3 separate regions of the Homo sapiens genome follow, and all the other regions are linked to region 3. Evidence: promoter capture Hi-C in 16 types of primary human blood cells and fetal thymus (Javierre and others, 2016). All regions are on one chromosome and are shown on one strand. The core of a region is centred on a gene start or on the middle of the fragment in contact, and the rest is flanking DNA. Distances in the headings are between cores, read along the strand shown.

Evidence for each region. The method cuts DNA at HindIII sites, captures the fragments that hold promoters and counts their contacts. A CHiCAGO score of 5 or more calls a contact.
Region 1: a fragment that was not itself captured here is called in contact with the fragment with the promoter of CCL28 in region 3 in 1 of 17 cell types (naive CD4 T cells); the score reaches 6.5 in naive CD4 T cells.
Region 2: a fragment that was not itself captured here is called in contact with the fragment with the promoter of CCL28 in region 3 in 4 of 17 cell types (naive CD4 T cells, activated CD4 T cells, non-activated CD4 T cells and 1 more); the score reaches 6.3 in naive CD4 T cells.

The regions. Positions count from the first base shown.
Region 1 is chr5:42,896,118-42,898,817 of GRCh38, reverse strand. It overlaps the pseudogene PRELID3BP4. Among named protein-coding and RNA genes, the nearest start is that of SELENOP, 86 kb to the right of the region's middle. The HindIII fragment of the contact is 4,195 bases long and covers 1-2,700 here.
Region 2 is chr5:42,879,842-42,882,541 of GRCh38, reverse strand. No RefSeq gene overlaps it. Among named protein-coding and RNA genes, the nearest start is that of SELENOP, 69 kb to the right of the region's middle. The HindIII fragment of the contact is 2,449 bases long and covers 47-2,495 here.
Region 3 is chr5:43,410,959-43,413,658 of GRCh38, reverse strand. It overlaps CCL28 (C-C motif chemokine ligand 28), which reads left to right and starts at 1,268. Exons shown (of 3, transcript NM_148672.3): 1 at 1,268-1,406. The coding sequence starts at 1,343. The HindIII fragment of the contact is 1,630 bases long and covers 759-2,388 here.

The DNA of each region.
Region 1 (2,700 bases), core at 125-2,624, 510 kb after region 3:
ACTCTCTTCATGGAATGAATAATATGCAGTGTGCTAAGGAACCCTTCTTTTAGATCTGCTTAAAATTGTGATGGTTCTTTTATTGAAATTATACACATTGTTTAAAGCCTTTTCCTTATTTTCCACCTGTGAAATCAAGACCGGTAAATCAAGATTGGTATAGATGGGCCCAAAGCTGACAGAAAGGGGGCAGGGATCCAACTCAGAGCTTTTTTTTCCTTCTTCTTTTTCCTTTTTTTTTTTTCTTTTGAGGTGGGGTCTCACTTTTTTGCCCAGGCTGGCATGCAATGGTACGATCATGCTTTAGTCTAAATCCCAGGGGGCCTTTCAGGAGCTGTGGATACTAACAAGGTGGGAGGGGACAGCTGGGTGGATCACTTGCTGGAGTTTCGAAGCTGACTGTGACCTCCCAGATGAAGGCAGGAAACAGACATTAATAATGTTCTTTAAATCGAGCTCCCCAACCTTTCTGGCACCAGGGATTTGTTGCGTGGAAGGCAATTTTTCCATGGATGGCTGGTAAGGGTTGGGGGGATGTTTTATGATGAAACTGTTCCACCTCAGATCTTCAGGCATTAGATTCTTATGAGGAGCATGCAAGGTAGATCCCTTGCAGTGCCAGTTCACATTAAGGTTGGTGCTCCTATGAGAATCTAATGCCATAGTTGATCTGACAGGAGGCAGAGCCCAGGCAGTAATGCTTTCTTGCCTGCTGCTCACCTCCTCCTGTGTGGCCTGGTTCCTATTAGTCCACAGGCTGGTATTAGTCTGTTTCTGGGGGATTGAGACCCCTGCTTTAAATTGTTTATAAGTTACATCGTATAATAATAAGTGGTGAAGGAGGAGGTTGGGATGCCCTTCACGTGGGGTTGATGGCACACAGTGAAGCTGGCTGGGATGCTGGGAGTCAGGTGGGGCAGGTGTAGCCTCTTTGTCTCATTTATCCTGCACTGCCCCGACATCTCTAAGGCTGCCTGCTCCATCATAATCTGGACTTCAGAGCATGACTTTGACCACTCATAGGAAACTGTTACAACAATTGGAATGCACAAATGCCCAAACCCTATGAACATGAGCATGGCTGGGGTTGGTGTACTGGACAGACATAGATCCCTCTGGAGAGTTGCACAACCACAGACTTCTCCACCAAGAGTAGGAACTGCCTTCCATTGTGAAGTCTCTTATTGGTACAGCAAGAACCAAAACATGTACTAGAATATTCTGTAGTTAATCCTATAGAGAAAACAATGGAACTTAAATCTACGAATATTTCATTTACAAATATGGTTTTAGTAGATGAGAGATATACACAAACCACATCATCAGGACACAGAAAAAAACTAGTTTGCCTCAAGAAGCTGTAAGTAGTGAAAGGAAGGAGCCTCAGCAGATACCTTGAAAAAACCGGTGGCAAGAACAGTATCTTCAAATGCTAATAAAGGCTGAGAAGCACTGGAATGGGTCATACATAAATTACATGTTAATATTGAAGAATTGACAGCTTCCAAAAGAGGAAGCCTAAGAATTCTGATGGTGGCTGCAGAATTTGTAAAGAATTGATAATGAATGTGTGTAGACAATATCAAGTACCTCGGGTCTCTCCAAGTTATATTTATTTTAAAAATGTAACTATATTTTAAGTACAATTATTAAAAAACAGGCAGATATAAGACTATGCAATTTTAGATAAAGAGAAATAGTTGCAAGACATCTAAATAAAAGGGATCATCTGAAATTAGTGTTGTTTGAAATGACTAATTTTGAACATTCTAGTATTTATGTGAAAATTTAACAATTTCTTTGAAAGAAATTCTTTGAAAGAATTTTCAATTACTTTGAAAGAAACTAGATGTTGGCATTAAGTCAGGGTACATGTGTGGGATCGTTGTTTAGGTGAACATGTGTCATGGGGGTTTGCTGTATGCAGTATTTCATCACTGTGTTAGGCCATTTTCATACTGCTAGGAGAAATACTGGGTCATTTATAAAGTAAAAGAGGCTTAATGGACTCACAGTTCCATATGGCTGGAGGGGCCTCACAATCATGGCAGAAGGGAAAGGAGGAGCAAAGGCACGTCTTACATAGCACCATGCAACAGAGCATGTGCAGGGGAACTGCCCTTTGTAAGACCATCAGATCTCATGAGACTTATTCACTATCATGAGAACGGCATGGGAAAAACGGCCCCATGGTTCTATTACTTCCCACTTGGTCCCTCCCAACACACAAGGGGATTATGGGAGCTACAATTCAAGATGAGATTTGGGTGGGGACACAGCCAAACCATATCAATCACTCAAGTACGGAGCCTAGTACCCATTAGTTATTTTTCCTGCCTCTCTCTCCATTTACCATCCACCCTCCGATAGGCTCCAGTGTCTGTTTTTCCCCTCTATATGTTCTTGTGTTCTCATCATCCAGCTCCCACTTATAAGTGGGAACAAAATTGACTTTTTTTTTTTATTGTGAACTTCCTTGAAACTGTGCCCTCTGTGATGGAGATCATTCTTTATTTAGTGCTTCCTCTCCAAAGTGCCTTAAAGTTTTCACAATTATAAAAACTATCTTTATGCAATCAAGAATATGCTAAGGAGCTTTACTTTTAGGTTAACTCAGAATTCATAGTTCTTTATACATGACAACTGAAGCCTATTCCTTATTCTCAACTTGTGGAATTGATTTGGATTGGGTGGAGTCAA
Region 2 (2,700 bases), core at 22-2,521, 530 kb after region 3:
TCAATAAAAGATCTAGTCTGTAATCCAGAACTACTGAGTCAAAGCTTCCAACTGTGAGGGCTAAGAAGTTTTGTTTTAAAAATTTCTGATATGGCAAGTTCAATAATATGAAATCTAGCTAGAACTAGTGATAACGTTTGGTAGATTTACCCCAAATTATTCTTTGTGAATAATTTTATTTATTCATTTTATATACAATTATGGGATGATATTGTATATTGTATTTGTATTCAGGCAGAACCCCAAGCCCAATTAGCTTAAGCAAACAGAGTTTATTGGCTTATGACTGAGAAGTCTAAAGCTGGTTCTGACTTTAATAACTACTCAACCTAGGGTGTCTGATATCTTCACCATCTTTATTTGGGAGTTAAGGCCTTTCTTTTCCTTAACCAAGTTCTAGGAAGAAAAGGTCCAGGACTTGTTTTCATTAGCCTGTCTTTCATGATGTACCAAGGAAATGAGTTACCTTAATTTAATCTAATTAACGTTTTTGACCTATGTGGGTTGGAGTCAAAGCACCACTTGAAACACGTGAGATGTTTTTCCCATAGGAAAGGGAAGTTCTATTAGCAGAAGAAGGAGGGGAAAGACATCTGCTGATCAGAAGAAAATAACAGATGTGATTAACACGCACTACATAGTTCTGCTTCCTGCTGTTTTCACTTAATGTTGTATACTCATCACTTTTTCATATCCTCAAAAATTCTTTGAAAATCTGATATTTTATTACCACACAATATTCTACTTTATATGGACAGTCTATTGGTTATCAATTGCTGCAAAATAAATTACCCTCAACAGCGTAAAACAACAAAAAATCTATTATATCCTATAGTTTCTCAGTGTCAGGAATACCTGAGTGGCTTAGCTGGGTAGTTTTGGCCACATTCTGTCATGAGTTTGCAGTCAAGCTGTCCGCTAGAGGGAAGATGTTGGTCAAAGGGCACACAATTTCAGTTATATAAGATAAATAAGTCCTAGAGACCTACTGTACAGCATAGCACCTGTAGTTAAAGATACTGTATTGAATACCTAATTTTCTAAGAGCATAGATCCTAAATGCTCTTATCACAAAATAAAATATAAAATAAAAGAGGCTCCTGCTTTTTGTCTTTCCACATTCTGCCCCAGGCCATCTCCCAGGCCCTGGGAACATCTTTGGCTTGTGCAAGAGCAGATCAGAAGTGCCAGGGGTTAAAGCCCTTGAGACCAACCCTTGGGAGAATGGTGTTGGAGTATTTGCTCCGCCTTCCATCTTTCAGGTGAACCATTCAGAGAAAGTCTGTACACCACTCAGAAGTCCCAGCAGAATTGAATCTCCATTGCTGATGGCAGGGACCTCAGTAATGCATCCTTACATGAGCTCTCCCTGCTTCCTCATGTCCCTCTCCAAGCTCCCTTGACCTGGTTCCCTAGTAGATCTTTTTAAATAAACTGCTTGCACCTAGTCCTTGTCTCAGGGTTTGAGTTCAAGGAAATACAAAACAAATCACCCTTTAAAACTATTTTTAAAAATTATATGGCATCAATATTTCAAACAGTTATGTAGCAACCATCTTGTTGAGCTAAACTCAAAGTCCCAGAAAAGGGAACAAGGATTCTTTACTGTCATACTAAGTAAATGTAATATTGTGTACATACCCTGTCTTACTGTGTTTTTGAATTAGTTAAAAGCCATCTCCATATTTTCTTAAGTAAACACATTATAGCCAATTGCACAATAGATGCTAACAGAAAACATTACTTTTCAGATATGGAATGTTCTAAGCAATATATTTCAAAGATTGTAAGAGATTTTCCTCCAAGAAAATGAGAGTAATTAAAATCCTCCGTATTTGGCATCCTCTTTCCTGGGATGATTAAGGCCTCCAGCTCTTGGCAGGTCAAGCCATTAAGGAAATCTGTGTGGCCATTTGAACAGGAAGGATTATACACTGACTACAGTTATCACTGGTCCAGAGGTAGAACATGCCAAAACTACTATTCAGGATAATTTTGAACTTGCTGATATGTCAATTTCAGTAAACAGAGTAACAAAGGACAGCCTGAAGTTTCCTGGGCTGGTGATGTGTGAACCCCCACGATTCTATGCAAGTCCAATTGCTAGAGAAGTGGCTTCAAATCAACTCTAAATTACTTTGGGCATATAGGAGGAGGGGAAGGAAGATGGCTACTCCATTAGTCCTCTTTATCCTTAATTTTTACAAATTGTGTGTATACTTTACGCAGTAGAAATTTACACTACAAATTCTGAATAAATCAACATGCTATCATTGTTTACCATCACTATAAAATGGTGGAAGAGTAAGTCCATTTATTCATGCAGAGATGAAACAGTTTTAAATTTATATTTTAACCTCATTAAAATTCTCAACTTACAAAAAGAACTACTAGCCAATCTCTTAGCCCAAGTGTCTGTTAAAACACTTGTTTGTTTGGGAACTTAACTGAAAACACAATTCTCAAGGAAATTGGCAGAATTATAACTATAAGCTTATAGTGACTCAATATATATTAAAAAGTTAAGGTAAAAAATATAAGAAAATGCTAATATGTAAACACTGCAAATATTTTAGTGAAGTAGAAAATACTTCTATCATATAAGGAACCAGTCTAATTTATGCTTAGATTTTTCACATATTGAATTTTGTGGTCAATGACTAATTACTCTTGTTTCTAAAATGAATGACATAATTTTAG
Region 3 (2,700 bases), core at 19-2,518:
GCATCTTTTGGAGAGAAGGAGCATTGTGTACTCACCTGGCAGAAGAGCAGAAGGTACCAACCCATTCCCACAAGCCCTTTTTATAGTAGCATTCATCCATTCATGAGGGTGGAGCCATCATAACCTAAACATTGTCCATTAGGCCCTATCTCCCAGCACTATTAGGGATTAATTTTCAACATGAGCTTTGGAGAAGAAAAAAATATTCAAACCACAGCAGTAATTTGAAAACATAAAAAGAAATGGGTGAAATTAATTTTAATAATATATTTTATTTAACCCAAAAAGTCCAAAATACTATCATGTAATCAATAAACAGTATAAACATTATTAACAAGATATTTTATATTTTTTTCTGTACCCAGTCTTTGAAATCCAGTGTGAATTTTATACCCATAGTACATCTGAGTTTGGACTACTCATATTTCAAGTGCTCAAGAGCCACATGTGGGCTAGCGGCTACCACATAGGACAACACAGTTCTAGAGGAAGCATGGCATGACTTTGGAGGTCATCTAGTCTGACTTGTTATTTACAGCAAAGTTAAGTACGTTGCCTGAGGTTATACAACTTATTAGTAGATGAGGAACAATTAGAATCCAATTATCTTCATGCTACCCCATGCTTTTATTCACAAAGCTGATTGGCAGCAAAGCTGCACTAGCGCTCATGCCTCTTCACACCTGCTCTTGGGCTCTTTTCTACAAGGCATTGCCCCCCTTCCTGTCTTTCTCCTAAATAAGCTATTGTAAAAAGCTTCACTGGAAACAATTTGGCTGTGAACCAAGACTAAAGTGGGGTTTAATACTTCCATATCTTTCCACAAAGATACATTTTTTATGACTTGTCACCCTTGTCCCCAGAAACTCATGGTTTCCATAAGCTACTTAAAAACTGATTATGCAATGGGTCTCAACATAAGTGTCCATCAGAATCACCTATAGAGCTTTTACAAAATTCAAATGACTGGTCTCCTACCTGGGAGTTCTGGTTTACAAATCAGGGAAAGGGGAGAGTCATTTAGATTGATTTTTTTTAATGTTCCCCAAATGATTCTGATGCACACCCCACCTCACAGTGACCCTGCCAGCTGCCAGATCTCCATTGACATCCCCTGACCCCCAGGCAGGATGAACACAAGTTAGGAGCTTAATAAGTCGAGGAGGAGCCTGGTCTTAAGGAAAGAAACATGAGAAATAGATACCCTGAACACCTCCCAGGGCGGGGCCACCTGGCTTACTTTTCCTCTGCACTTTCTCTGTGCCCAAGGACACCTTTAGCCTCATTTCCTGATCGAACAGCCTCACTTGTGTTGCTGTCAGTGCCAGTAGGGCAGGCAGGAATGCAGCAGAGAGGACTCGCCATCGTGGCCTTGGCTGTCTGTGCGGCCCTACATGCCTCAGAAGGTGAGTGGGGGCACTGGACACTTAGGCCTTCACTGGAAAGGGGGGTATCTCCCAAATCTGTGCTGGAAGGATTGAGGTGGGGCAAGAATATCTATCTCTTCAAGCAGGAATTTCCAATTGATTTCTGATTACCTACAAGAGAATGACATAGCTTTAAATTCTAGATCTCCCAGAAGTTTCAGGAAGGAACCTCATTCTAACAGGCATACTACAAATTTTTGCCACCTGGAGGATGAGGTCCTTCCATGTAGGTACAACTTCGAGCTATGTTTCCTTTTCTGAAGACAGTATCTTAGAAAATCCCCAGCTAGAGGCTGGAGTAAAGCCCCTACTATTCATCTGTCTTCCTCCACACCCCAACCTGCTAAACGGTCTGAACACAACTGTGCACATTCCTGGAGGGAAATACAGACTTGGCCAGCTGCGTTCAAATTAGGTAAGTTGTAAATTTCCTGAGCAAAGTCAGCTCTATGGATACAGAAAACTGAAACTTCAGTCTGACCTTTAAAAAGGGAGGGCAGAGCTGAGCACAGTGGTGCATGCCTGTATTCCCACCTACTTGGGAGGCTACGGCTGGAGGATAGCTTCAGGCCAGGAATTCAAGATTGCAGTGAGCTATGATCACACTGTGAATTGCCACTGCACTCTGAATTGCCACTGCACTCCAGCTTGGGCAACATAGTAAAACCCCATCTGTTAAAAACAAAAAGAGGGGAGGGGAGGGGAAAGAGAAGGAAAGGAAGAAAGGAAAGGAAAGAAAGAAAAAGAAGAAAAGCAGGATGAGGGAGATTGAACCATACAAATTATGTCAAAGAGAATTTAAATCGTGAGTTGCTAGCATGTATTTGGAGATTGTAACTGCATTTGAACTAGAGGGAATCTCTTCTAAAGTAGCACTCACTACTATATTCAGGAAACCCTAAGTGTCAGTACTTAATACTTGACCAATGACTCTTTTCCATTGTCATCTTTTCTTTAAGCTTTATCCTGAACAGATTCTCTAAGTCTAGAGCAGAGGTGGAATATAAGTCTTTGGTCTGCTTTTTAAAAATCTGAGCCAACATTTTAAAACTGAAAGCTTTCTCATGTACATACTCATACATACACACATACAAATTGGATTTTAAAGCTTCTCTTGAGAAATCAGATGTGGCAACAATGATTCCACCATACCATGGCAAGAACTGGCTAAAGCAGATGAGCCTCTGAAGTTTGCTGTATTAACTGCCTGGTCCCTGCAGGCATTTGCTTAGGGACTCCCAATATAGTCCGTCAATGTACTGGGCTTATACAA